Regions from separate parts of the Homo sapiens genome. Here regions 1, 3 and 4 are each linked to region 2. Evidence: promoter capture Hi-C in 16 types of primary human blood cells and fetal thymus (Javierre and others, 2016). All regions are on one chromosome and are shown on one strand. The core of a region is centred on a gene start or on the middle of the fragment in contact, and the rest is flanking DNA. Distances in the headings are between cores, read along the strand shown.

Evidence for each region. The method cuts DNA at HindIII sites, captures the fragments that hold promoters and counts their contacts. A CHiCAGO score of 5 or more calls a contact.
Region 1: a fragment that was not itself captured here is called in contact with the fragment with the promoter of CHST13 in region 2 in 9 of 17 cell types (total B cells, naive CD8 T cells, naive B cells and 6 more); the score reaches 14.3 in total B cells.
Region 3: a contact is called between a fragment that was not itself captured here and the fragment with the promoter of CHST13 in region 2, in 1 of 17 cell types (M1 macrophages). The highest score is 5.2, in M1 macrophages.
Region 4: a contact is called between a fragment that was not itself captured here and the fragment with the promoter of CHST13 in region 2, in 15 of 17 cell types (total B cells, naive CD4 T cells, naive B cells and 12 more). The highest score is 33.1, in total B cells.

The regions. Positions count from the first base shown.
Region 1 is chr3:127,528,778-127,531,477 of GRCh38, reverse strand. All of the region lies in intron 5 of LINC01471 (long intergenic non-protein coding RNA 1471), which reads left to right. Among named protein-coding and RNA genes, the nearest start is that of LINC02034, 7.2 kb to the left of the region's middle. The HindIII fragment of the contact is 5,147 bases long and covers 1-2,700 here.
Region 2 is chr3:126,522,723-126,525,422 of GRCh38, reverse strand. It overlaps CHST13 (carbohydrate sulfotransferase 13), which reads right to left and starts at 1,268. Exons shown (of 3, transcript NM_152889.3): 1 at 994-1,268. The coding sequence starts at 1,090. RefSeq lists enhancers at 1-381, 382-882, 943-1,443, 1,444-1,944. The HindIII fragment of the contact is 2,161 bases long and covers 597-2,700 here.
Region 3 is chr3:127,565,154-127,567,853 of GRCh38, reverse strand. No RefSeq gene overlaps it. Among named protein-coding and RNA genes, the nearest start is that of MIR6825, 8.8 kb to the left of the region's middle. The HindIII fragment of the contact is 3,552 bases long and covers 1-2,700 here.
Region 4 is chr3:127,547,893-127,550,592 of GRCh38, reverse strand. The region is part of intron 6 of LINC02034 (long intergenic non-protein coding RNA 2034); the gene reads right to left. Among named protein-coding and RNA genes, the nearest start is that of LINC01471, 11 kb to the right of the region's middle. RefSeq lists a silencer at 2,350-2,669. The HindIII fragment of the contact is 683 bases long and covers 1,045-1,727 here.

The sequences.
Region 1 (2,700 bases), core at 105-2,604, 1.0 Mb before region 2:
CTTTTTAGTATTTCCTCTACATACGTTGGCAATCACATCATTCAGTGTTATAACTTTTGCTTCAATTGTCAAGCATAATTTAGAAAACTCAAGAGATGAGGTCTATTGTCTCTATCTATATTTTGTTGACTGTGTTCTTCCTTCCTTACACTTTGAGATTCCTTCTTTTCTCATTTTATTTGTTTGGCAAACTTCCTTTAATCACTCCTTTTGGGTAGGTCTGCTGGTGACAAAGTCTCTGTTTTTTTTTTCTTCTGAAGATGTCTTGATTTCCTCTTGATTTCTGAAGGATATTTTCACTGGATGTAAGATTCTGGGCTGAGAGTTCTTTTCTTTCAGCTCTTGAAAATTGCTGTGCCACTTCCTTTTGGTCTCCATGGTTTCAGTGAGAAATCTGCTGTCATTAAAATGGTTTTCCCTTACAGGTAAGATGCTGTTTCTTTTTTCTCTCTCTCTGTCGCCCAGGCTGGAGTGCAGTGGCACAATCTCGGCTCACTGCAACTTCTGCTTCCTGGGTTCAAGCGATTCTCCTGCTTCAGCCTCCCGAGTAGCTGGGACTACAGGCGCGTGGCACCATGCCCGGCTAATTTTTTGTATTTTTAGTAGAGATGGGGTTTCACCGTGTTAGCCAGGATGGTCTCGATCTCCTGACCTCGTGATCTGCCCGCCTCATCCTCCCAAAGTGTTGGGATTACAGGCGTGAGCCACCGCACCCAGCCTGTTTCTGTTTTTTTTTTTTTTTTTTGAGGTAGAGTCTCTCTCTGTCTCCCAGGCTGGAGTGCAGTGGTGCGATCTTGGCTCACTGCAACCTCTGCCTGTCAGATTCAAATGATTCTCTTGCCTCAGCCTCCCTAGTAGCTGGGATTATAGGCATGCGCCATCACACCTGGCTAATTTTTGTATTTTTAATAGAGACGGGGTTTTGCCATGTTGGCCAGGCTGGTCTTGAACGCCTGACCTTAAGTGATCTGCCCTCCTCGGCCTCCCGAAGTGCTGGGATTACAGGCGTTAGCCATGGCGCCTGGCCAAGATGTTTTTTTCTTGCCACTTTCAAGATTTTTGTCTTTGTCTTCAGTTTTCCGAAGTCTCAATAGAAGGTGTCTTGGCATAGGTTTGCTTTGATTGATGCCATTTGGGGTTTGCTCAGGTTCTTGAATCTGTAAATTTATGTCTTTTGCCAAATTTAGGAAATTTCTAAACATTATTTCCTTGAAAATCTTTTCAGCTCCACCCTCATCTTTCTTCCTTTCTGGGTCTCTCACGACATGGATGCTAGGCCTTTTGTAATAGAGAGACCAAAATATAGACCAAAATGTATATAGGCCAAAATATACATACCCGAGATTCTGCTCATTTTTATCTAAGTCTATTTTTTGCTTTGTTGTTCAAATTAAGTAATTTCTATTATTTTATCTTTAGGTTCACTGACTCTTCCCTCCAGCCTCTCTGTTCTGGCGTTGAGCCATCCACTGAGTTAATTTTGGCTGTTGCGTTTTCAACCCTGAGTTCCCATTTTGTTCCTCTTTGTGGCTTGTTTCTCTGCAGAGATTTTCTATTTTCTCACTTGATTCTGTTGTGTTTGCCGTTGAGCATTTTTGTGATGGTGGCTTCAAATTGTTCAGATGATGCTGCTGTTGGTGTCATCCTGGGTTAGTCTCTGCATCTCTTCTCATCAGGGTCGGTGTTTTCCTGGATCCTGGTGTGGAGTGATTTGTGATTGAAGCCTGGATATTAGGGGTTATGTGGTGGGGCTCCTGGCCTTATTTAAACCTCTGTCTCAGCAGCCTCCTTTGAGGCCCGGCTGTGGTGGACTTCCTTGCCCCCAGCTGGGCTTCTCCAATACCTTCCCAAGGAGGGGTGGCATCTCAGTCAGTACATCTGGGTGAGGGTGGAGGTCTAGGCTCCCTCCTCAGTCTCTGCTGGCCAGGGTGGTGTGGGGCCTCGTCTTTTCCTGTGTGGTCTGATGGCGTAGGTCAGTTATCTTCTAAAGTTTTCCAGAATGCCCCTTGCCTGGCTAGAGGGAGCAGGTTTTTTTGGGGGATTGTTTTCTGAGCCTGTTGGTATTTCTAGGTTGCTGACTCTTTAGCACCCAGTTTGGCAAACACGAAGCAAAAAGATGGAACTCACCACCATGCTGTTGCCAGGTCCTGAGGCTCCCAGCTTGTGCTTCTCTGCACATGTTAGGGCCTCCTTGTATTCATTCTACACAGAATACCCATGACTTTTAGCTGTATTTGGTGGGGGGAAATAAGAAAAAGTACCTTGACTTCTTCCATCTTTCTGGTTGCAGCAGTTCCAGTGGGTAAAGCCCTTTGAAATTGCACACATACACCATCCTCTACGCCAGCCTCCTTCAAGATTCTGAGCTGTGCACTGCTGTTATTCATACTGTTTGTCTGCTCTAATTGTCCAATTCTTGTGAAAAGTCTAAACATGACCTTGGGTGATACCCTGGGGTGCATAGAGCAGAAAGCCAAGCTATAATGAGAGGTTCCTTGGATCTCAGAGGGTGGGCAGGGTCTGGAGGCAGGGCAGCTGGGATGGGGCTGGGCTGAGGTTTGGAGAGGCCTGGGTCCAGGCCAGACGAAAGCCAGTCCTTGGATCCACAAACACCCACAGCCAATCCATGCTAATTCTACGCATTCATGAGTTGTCCTCTAAAACTCTTCTTCCCAATTTCCTCCAAAACCCTCCATGTCA
Region 2 (2,700 bases), core at 19-2,518:
AGGGGGAGTGGGCAGAGGCCTCCCCAGGCCCTGATATCCTCAAGTCTTGGGCCACTCCCACCCCCACTGCCCAACATCCCCGCCCACCCTGGACCTAGTTACTTACTCCCTGGGACTGTGTCTGCCAGGTTCCAAGGGTGGGGCCCAGGATTCTCAGAGCCCACACTGGGGGTGGGGAGGCGGACTGAGTCGTCCCACCCAGCACGCATACCACATACAAGGAAAGGCAAACAGCCCTGAGGTCAGGAGACCCGGGCGCTGGCTGGGCCCCTCCAGTCCCAAGTAGATTGTATAGCCAGCACGTTGCCACCACACCTGTCTCCCCACTCTCTGGCCCGCTTCAGATTGTGTGAAATGGGTTGATGGGAGGCTTCACATGAGCTGAGGAGAGACTCAGAGCAAAGACTCAGCACCGGTGGAGCCCAGGGCACTCAGCTCTGCGGAGTCATGACTAACTGCCTCAGTTTCCCCAGCCAGACCACGAGTGGGTGCACAGGAGTCCCAAGCCCTACCCAGTGTGGATTTCAGGGTGGAGCAGGGAGTGGCACCCACTGCACAGTAGGACAACCAAGGGACCGGACCGAGTGGCCCAAGCTTCCCCTCCTATGCGCATGCGCCCAGCAGCGCTCATGTCCAGGGGCCGTGGGGTGCGCAGGGGAAGGGGGTGAAGGTAAGGGAGATGGCCTTCCCGGATTGGCCAATTGTCCTCTACCCCCCACAACTGACCCCGGTCTCCAGGCACCGGCTGTGGGACTCAAAACAGTCACCGCTCTGGGAGTGGGGAGGTAACTCCGGAGGAGGAGCAAGAGCCTTTGCTCGCGGGGGCGTCTAGAGCCTTTCTGTGCCTCACCAGCGCCCCTGCCCGCCACCCCTAGCCCCAGCCAGGAAGGAGACAACAGGTGTCCCCCGCGCTGTCGAGGGGTCAGGCCGCGGTGGAAAGCGCGAGGAGCCAGGTTTGGTTGGGGGTGCGCGGCTCGGCCGGCGGGCACTCACCCGGGCGCAGGGAGCGGGGCGCGGCGCATAGGAGCAGGAGCGCGGCGCCCAGACAGGCGGCCGCCAGCACGCGCCGCCGGCAGCAGCGCCTCCCCATGCTGTGCCGGGCGCGCGGCGGAGGACAGTCCGCTGGATACGGCTGGGGGCGGAGTTGCACTGGCCCAGGACCCGGCCCCGGCAGCGCAGCGCCTACCAAGACGCGCGGCGCGGCGCAGGGCAGGGGAGCACGGCAGCTGGACCCCAGCCCCACCAGCCCCTGCGAGTCGCTGGGGACTGAGGAGGCGGGACACGGTGGGGCCGCAAGCCCGCTCCTCTTTTCGTGCCCCCACCCTCACCCAATGGAATGGGGCCGAAGTCCAGGGCGCTAGGGCGGAGACTGATTGGGGAAGCCCCTCGCCTCTGGGCCCCGCCCCTAGGGTTTGCCCAGGGGTGCCATTATCCACCCAAGGCCAAGAGGCATTGTCGCGGTGGCGTGCCCCACCCCGGGCGGTGTCCCCTTGCCTTTTTGCTGCCTTAGATGCCAGGGGCCCAAGGGCTGATCTGGGATGAACCAAGGAGCCTAGTAGAGCGTTGCCCTGTCCATGGCTCTCCGGGACCCCCGCCCTCAGTAAGAGGCCTAAGAGTGTCCCTCCCTCCCCGACCCAAGGCTACCCTGCAGCCTTGCTTTCCTCCAGGGTCTCCAGGTCCTGCCTGAATCTAGCTCATGCAGGTGGCACTAGCCTTTGCACAGAGAGGTAGGGTCTCAGCTTACATCCCCCGGGGAATGGAGCTTGTGCCTCATCGTGTCACCCACAACTTCTCTGGGCACCACGTGAGCTCTGAGGACTTGCCAGGGACTGTGTGTGTGTGTGTGTGTGTGTGTGTGTGTGTGTGTGTTGGGGGGTGGAGGGGGCGAGGTGAGAGTAAAGTCCAGCCTTTGAAAGACACACACATCCAGCTAGCCCTGTGGGCAGGAGCCCACGTCTAACCGCAGGGTCTTGCTGCCCAGAAGTCAGGCTAGCAGGGAACGGGAGGGTGCAGCTGGCACTGGGTGCGCGGATGAGTGCGTTGGAAACAACATTTAGCAGTGTGAGTGCATGGGATAGGGTACTACATTACACTGTAGGTTTTTTTTGGAGTTTTTTGTATAAATGTAAGGGACACAAGTGCAGGTTTGTTACATGGAGATATGCAGTGGTGAGGTCTGGGCTTTCCGTGTAACCATCACCTAAATAATGTCCATTGTACCCATTAAGTAATTCCTCATCCCTCCCACCTCGCTCACTCTCCTACCCTTCCAAGTCTCCAGTGTCTATTATTCCACACTCGAAGCTCCAGTTGTTAAACTGTTCTTGAAAAATGTGGTGACTCCAAACCCACCTGGTGCCGCTTACTGCTGTGGGAGATTAGGAAATTAACTGCACCTCTCTGTTTCCCATTTTCCTGTACGGGGGGATAATCCTAAACCTCAGTGCTGTGAAGATTAAATGAGATACAGGAAATGTTTGCAACAGTGTCTGGCACTCAGTGAGTGCCAGGTAAGTATTTGATATTAGTAATTAATTTGTTTATGGTTACTGCCTGTTTCTGGCAAGTGGCTGGTTTCTGTTAAAGTGGTGAAATAAAAATTTCTCCCTACTATATTTATTTAAGTTGTGGAAGATCTATTTAAGGAAGAATATTAAGCAAATAATAGTTCTGCTGGTTTTGAGATACAGCTTTAAATGG
Region 3 (2,700 bases), core at 8-2,507, 1.0 Mb before region 2:
TTTGGTTGATGATTTAGGGGGATATGAAAGTAGTTCTAAACCCTATGTTCTGGCAGCATTCTAAACACTCGCCATGGGTTATACAGCTCCACTTTACAGACGGGGAAACCTGAGGGAGTGAGGTCACATGGCCAAATACATGGCGGTAGGGTGGGTTTTGACTCCAGGCAATCGGGCTGAGTCCAGGCCTCTGACCACTGCGCCGCACTGTCACATCTGACAGAAACACCCTCAGCACTGGAAGGGCCCCGAGCCTTGTTTCTTGGGCCATTGCATCAAAATGAGGAGCCTGTAGCCACTCCAAAACCAGTCTGGAGGATGTAGAGAAAATGCCGAAAGGATTGCTGGGATGGGACTGAGAGCGCCTGGGGTGATTATAGCAGAGCGGGGTCTGGAGTGCACACCTCTGGAGCATAGAACTAACTCGTTTCCACTCCTAGCTCTGCCACTTCCTCAAGTGAGCTGGCAGGCTTCCTGTATTCTGTGCCTCAGTTTCCCCACCTATAATGTGGGGCTGATTGTGCCTCCTTGGCTTCCATGAAGCCCCCACCCCATCCCGTGCAGGGCCTGGCCCAGTGCAGCATCTCCATCCGGGGAACTGTCCATGCTCTGTTTCTCAGCAGGACCTTCTCTGGAGGGTATAGGGGCTGCTTGTGGGGAGTGGCCCGTGTAATTGGCTCTGGGATCAGGAGCGTGCCCAACGATTTATTTCTCATATTGTTTGGGGACGGTGACTCAGCTGAATGCATTCTTCAAATCAAGATCCAAAAACCTGCTGTGAAGAGTGTTTAAAGCCGGCTCCGGGAGGCTCTGGGATGCAAGATCAGTTCTGCTTGGCTGGAGGCGAATGGTATTCTGGGGAAGACAGGGCCTAATTCGAGGTTGAAAATGTGAGAGCCACTCCAAGGAGCTGGCCCTCCCCATGGGCTGGGGCTTGCCCGGGCTGGAGCTGGGCCATGGGCTTGTGGGGCACACCCCTCACACCATTGGCCTCCCCACTGTGAGCACCTGGGCTGCCTCAGGGGCTGGCTCTGAAACCCTTGACTACAGACTGGAGTGGGTGACAAGCACCCTCCTCTAGACATTGATGCAGCCCTTGTGACGGTGGCCTTCCAGAAGGTTCCTACTCTTCCCAATTCCAAATGCTGACCCTCATCATCCTCATAAATGCAGGTATCCTGTGGGCTTGCACAATGTTTAAAATATTAGTTGTCAGATTTTAAATATTACAAGATTTCATATATTGTCCAAATATTAGGCTTCTCATTAAAAAAAAAATCAGAAGATGTGACAGTCTCAGATTGGGACATTTCTCCCCCAGTTCTGACTGGTCCTCCTGGCATGGACCATCATGTCTCCTGCCTGGCTCCTGCACATATCAGAGTTTCAGACATCCCTGCAATCCTGGGCCCTGTCATCAGGAGGATTCTCCCAGGCTACATCTTGTCCTTCCCACTCATAGCATTCTGCACATGTTTACTGAGCACCTACCTAGTATGCCTGTGCCATGCTCTATAGTGATCTAGATATAGAAGACAGACAATAAAACAAATTACAACCTTGTGTTGCCATGGAGTCCAGTCTTTTTTGCCTGCCCAGTCTTCTTAAAATAATTTTTTTTAAATAAAATAGAGATGGGGTCTCCCTATGTTGCCCAGGCTGGTCTTGAACTCCTGAGCTCAAATGGTCCTCTCGATTCAGCCTCCCAAAGTGTTAGGATCACAGGCGTGAGCCATCATACCTGGCCTGCCTGCCCAGACTTCTAAGATGCCCCCAACTTCCCTTCTGGGTACTGGCCCTTGCTTGGGCTCCTTGGTAGGAACATGCTCAGGCCTAGCCAATGAGGAACGTGCATGTGACTCAGGCTGAGCCAATCGGAATCACTGAGCTGCTTCTGGAATTCTTGAGAAAAAGAAGTGGCTTACTGCAGGGTTTGCCGAGCCGGTGGAATGTGGTTCTGGAGCTGCTCTAGCTCCCTTGTGAGAGTCTCTGAGGATGAGGCCATCAGGGCCATGGCAGAGCTTTGGAGAGGGGCAGGGCTCAGGAGCAAGCTCTCCGCCCAGCACCTGGATCCATCCGAGCCTGAGCAGGGCATGGCAGGCGTTTCCAGGCATTGCAGCCAACACAGCTCCTTTGTGGCTCAAGCCAGCTTAAGTTGAGTCTTGTCACTTGTAACTAGAGGAGCCCTGTCTTATGTGGGTGAGGGGTGAGCCAGGCAGAGGGATACCCAGGGGCTGCGGGCATGGGGAGGAGATCCAGCTCCAAGCTAGGGGCAAGGGCCTTCCAACCGGCAAGTTTGAAGGGTGAGCAGATGTCAGGGAAATGAAGGGAGGAGCAGAAAGGGAGGGCATTCTAGTCTGGGGAAGCCATGAGCACAAGACTGCTAGATCAGTGTGGATTGAAATAAGACGGGACTCTTAGAACCGTGGTTCAAATAAGGAATGAAATAGCGTCTTAGCTTTTACTAATTTTTTCCTTCATGCAGATGGCAATGATCCTCTTATAGTTTGACCAAAAAATTTCAGAAAGTGACAGATGTAAAATTAAATATTCTTAGCAGAGCAAGAAATGATCATACAAGACACCTCCTTGTGGGTCTTGCAGCCCGGAGAGCATCGCAGGTCGTGCTGGCAAAGCCCAAAGTCCAGGCACCTTAAAGACTTCTTTGTCCAAATAACCTTTCTGCAGACACTTTTATAC
Region 4 (2,700 bases), core at 137-2,636, 1.0 Mb before region 2:
ATTGATTTAAAAAATTTTAAATTTCTGAATAGGAAATATATTCTCACGGGGCTTAAAAAGTTACAGTGATGTATATTGAGAATTCTTTCTCTCCTTCCTGTTCCTGACCACCCCATGCCCCAGACAGGTGACCACTTGTACTGATTTCTTATGGATCCTTTTAATGTTTCTTTACACAAACATATACAAATAGACATTCTTATTTCTCCACCCCATTCCTACACAAAAGCCTTATACTGTGTGCGTGGTTCTGCATGTTTGTTTTTCTGCTAACATCTACTAGCATGGCCCAGGGAATGCAGCCTCTCTTGGCTCGTCCCTAAGTGTTAGAGTGTGCAGATTCTTCATTCATTCATTCATTCATTCATTCATTCATTCATGTATTTATTGGACATCCATTATGTGCCAGGACTGTTCTGGGCCCTGGGATCTAGCGGTAGTGGTGAGTCTCACAGCAATGTGGAAGGACCTGTTTCCCAACAGCATGTGGAATTTTCCTATCAGCCCACGGAGCCTCCTCACTGTCTTCAACAACTGTGCGGTATTCCACTGTGTGCCCAAAGCAGAGTTTGTCTAACCAGCTCCTAGATGGGTTGTTTCCAATATTTTCATGATTACAAACGGCAGCAGTGCCTCCCGTGGTGGAACTGTGAGGACGCATCATTTCGTGGTGCCCAGGATGTTTGCAAGACCCATGCTCAGAGGTAGGGTTGCAGGGTCACATGGTAAATATGACAGCCCTTTCTATGGACAGCTTCCCCTCCAGAGGGTGTTCCCTTGACTCTCATGGCAATGTGGAAGGACCTGTTACACACACACACACACACACACACACACACACACGCTGTCGGCAGCACTAGAATTCTTTGCTGTTCTGATAGGTGAGAAATGGTAACTTGATGTCATTAATTTCCATTTCTGTTATCATGTGTGGAGTTGGACATTTGTCATACATTTAGGGGCCTTTTGAGTTTTCTGTAAACTGTCTATTCAAGTTTTCTGCCAATTTTCGGGGGGGTTGTCTTTTCTAGATTTCTAGAAGCTTTTAATGTATTAGGTTAGACCAGGGATTGGCAAACTGTTGCCTGTGGGATAAATTGGGCCCACTGCCTTTTAAATTTTTTTGTAAATAAAATTCTACTGGAACAGAGCTGCACTCACTGTCTGTGGTTGCCTTCTGCCACCACAGCAGAGCTGAACAGTTGCCACAGATACCCTCATGGTCTGCAAAGCTGAAAGTACTCACTACACAGCCCTTTACACAAACAGCCTGCTGACCCTGTGCTAGACTTTTGTAATGAGTTTCAAACATTTTCCCCAGTTTCTCATTTGTCTTTTGACTTTTCCTTTTTCTTTAAGTGCATTTTTAGCTTAAAGATAGTTTCTGGTCGGGCACGCTGTCTCACTCCTGTAATCCTAGCACTTTGGGAGGCCGAGGTGGGTGGATCACGAGGTCAGGAGCTCGAGACCATCTTGGTCAACATGGTGAAATCCCGTCTCTACTAAAATACAAAAAATTAGCCAGGTGTGGTTAGCTGGGCATGGTGGCATATGCCTGTAGTTCCAGCTACTTGGGAGGCTGAGGCAGGGGAATTGCTTGAACCTGGGAGGTGGAGGTTGCAGTGAGCTGAGATCGTGCCACTGCACTCCAGCCTGGGTACAGAGCAAGACTCCATCTCAAAAAAAAAAAAAAAGTTTCTTGGACATCTTTTGATAGGGCTAAAGCTTGACTTCTGGAGGGTCTTGCTTCTCAAAAACCACCCTTTTTATATGCCAGCCTCTGAGGTTCACTGTCGCTTGTGTGTCTGGTTTTTTTTTTTTTTTTTTTTTTTTTTTTAAACAGGGTCTTGCTCTGCTGCCCCGGCTGGAGCGCAGTGGTGTGATCACGGCTCACTGCAGCCTCGACCTCCTGTGCTCAAGCGATCCTCCCGATCCTCCCGCCTCAGCCTCCTCAGTAGCTGGAACTACAGGTGTGCGCCACCAAGTCAGGCTAATTTTTAAAAATTTTTTGTAGAGATGGGGTTTCCCTGTGTTACCCAGGCTGGTCTCGAACTTCTGGGCTCAAGTGATCCGCCCTTCTTGGCTTCCCAAAGTGGTGGAAATACAGGCATGAGCCACCGTGACCGGCCTGTTGCTTGAACTTCATTCCAGTGCTAAAAGGAAATGCATGAAAAGACAGACTTAAACCAAAACTATGTAGACATTGATGGAGAATTTGGCACTTGGATACTTGGATTCTTACTGCTGAGATTTCAATGGTTTGAGACGTGAAGATTGAAGCTGGGGATATGATGATGCCCGTGTTACAGATGAGGACACTGAGGCTCAGACAGTCGTGCAGCCTGCTGGCCTGCGGGGACGGGGACAGCGCTGCGGGACGGCGCCTGGCGCTGGGTCGGCCACTCCCAGCTGGTGACCTTGGCCACTCCCAGCTGGTGATCTTGGCTGTGAAGCGAGATCCAGAGAGGGGAGGGGCCCCAAGGACCCAGCCGAGTGCGGGCAGGGCGGAGCTGAGCGTGGGTCCCAAGGGAGTCCCCGACGTTCTGCGGCCCCCCCAACGCCCGGCCTCTGGAGGCCGTAGGGGCTCCCTGGCCTCTCGCCCCCAGTGCAGCCCGGGCACAGTGCAGTCGCTCCGCGCCATGCTTGACGTGGGCACCAGGGGGCGGTGCGGCACCAGGCATGGCGGCGCGCGGGGCCGGG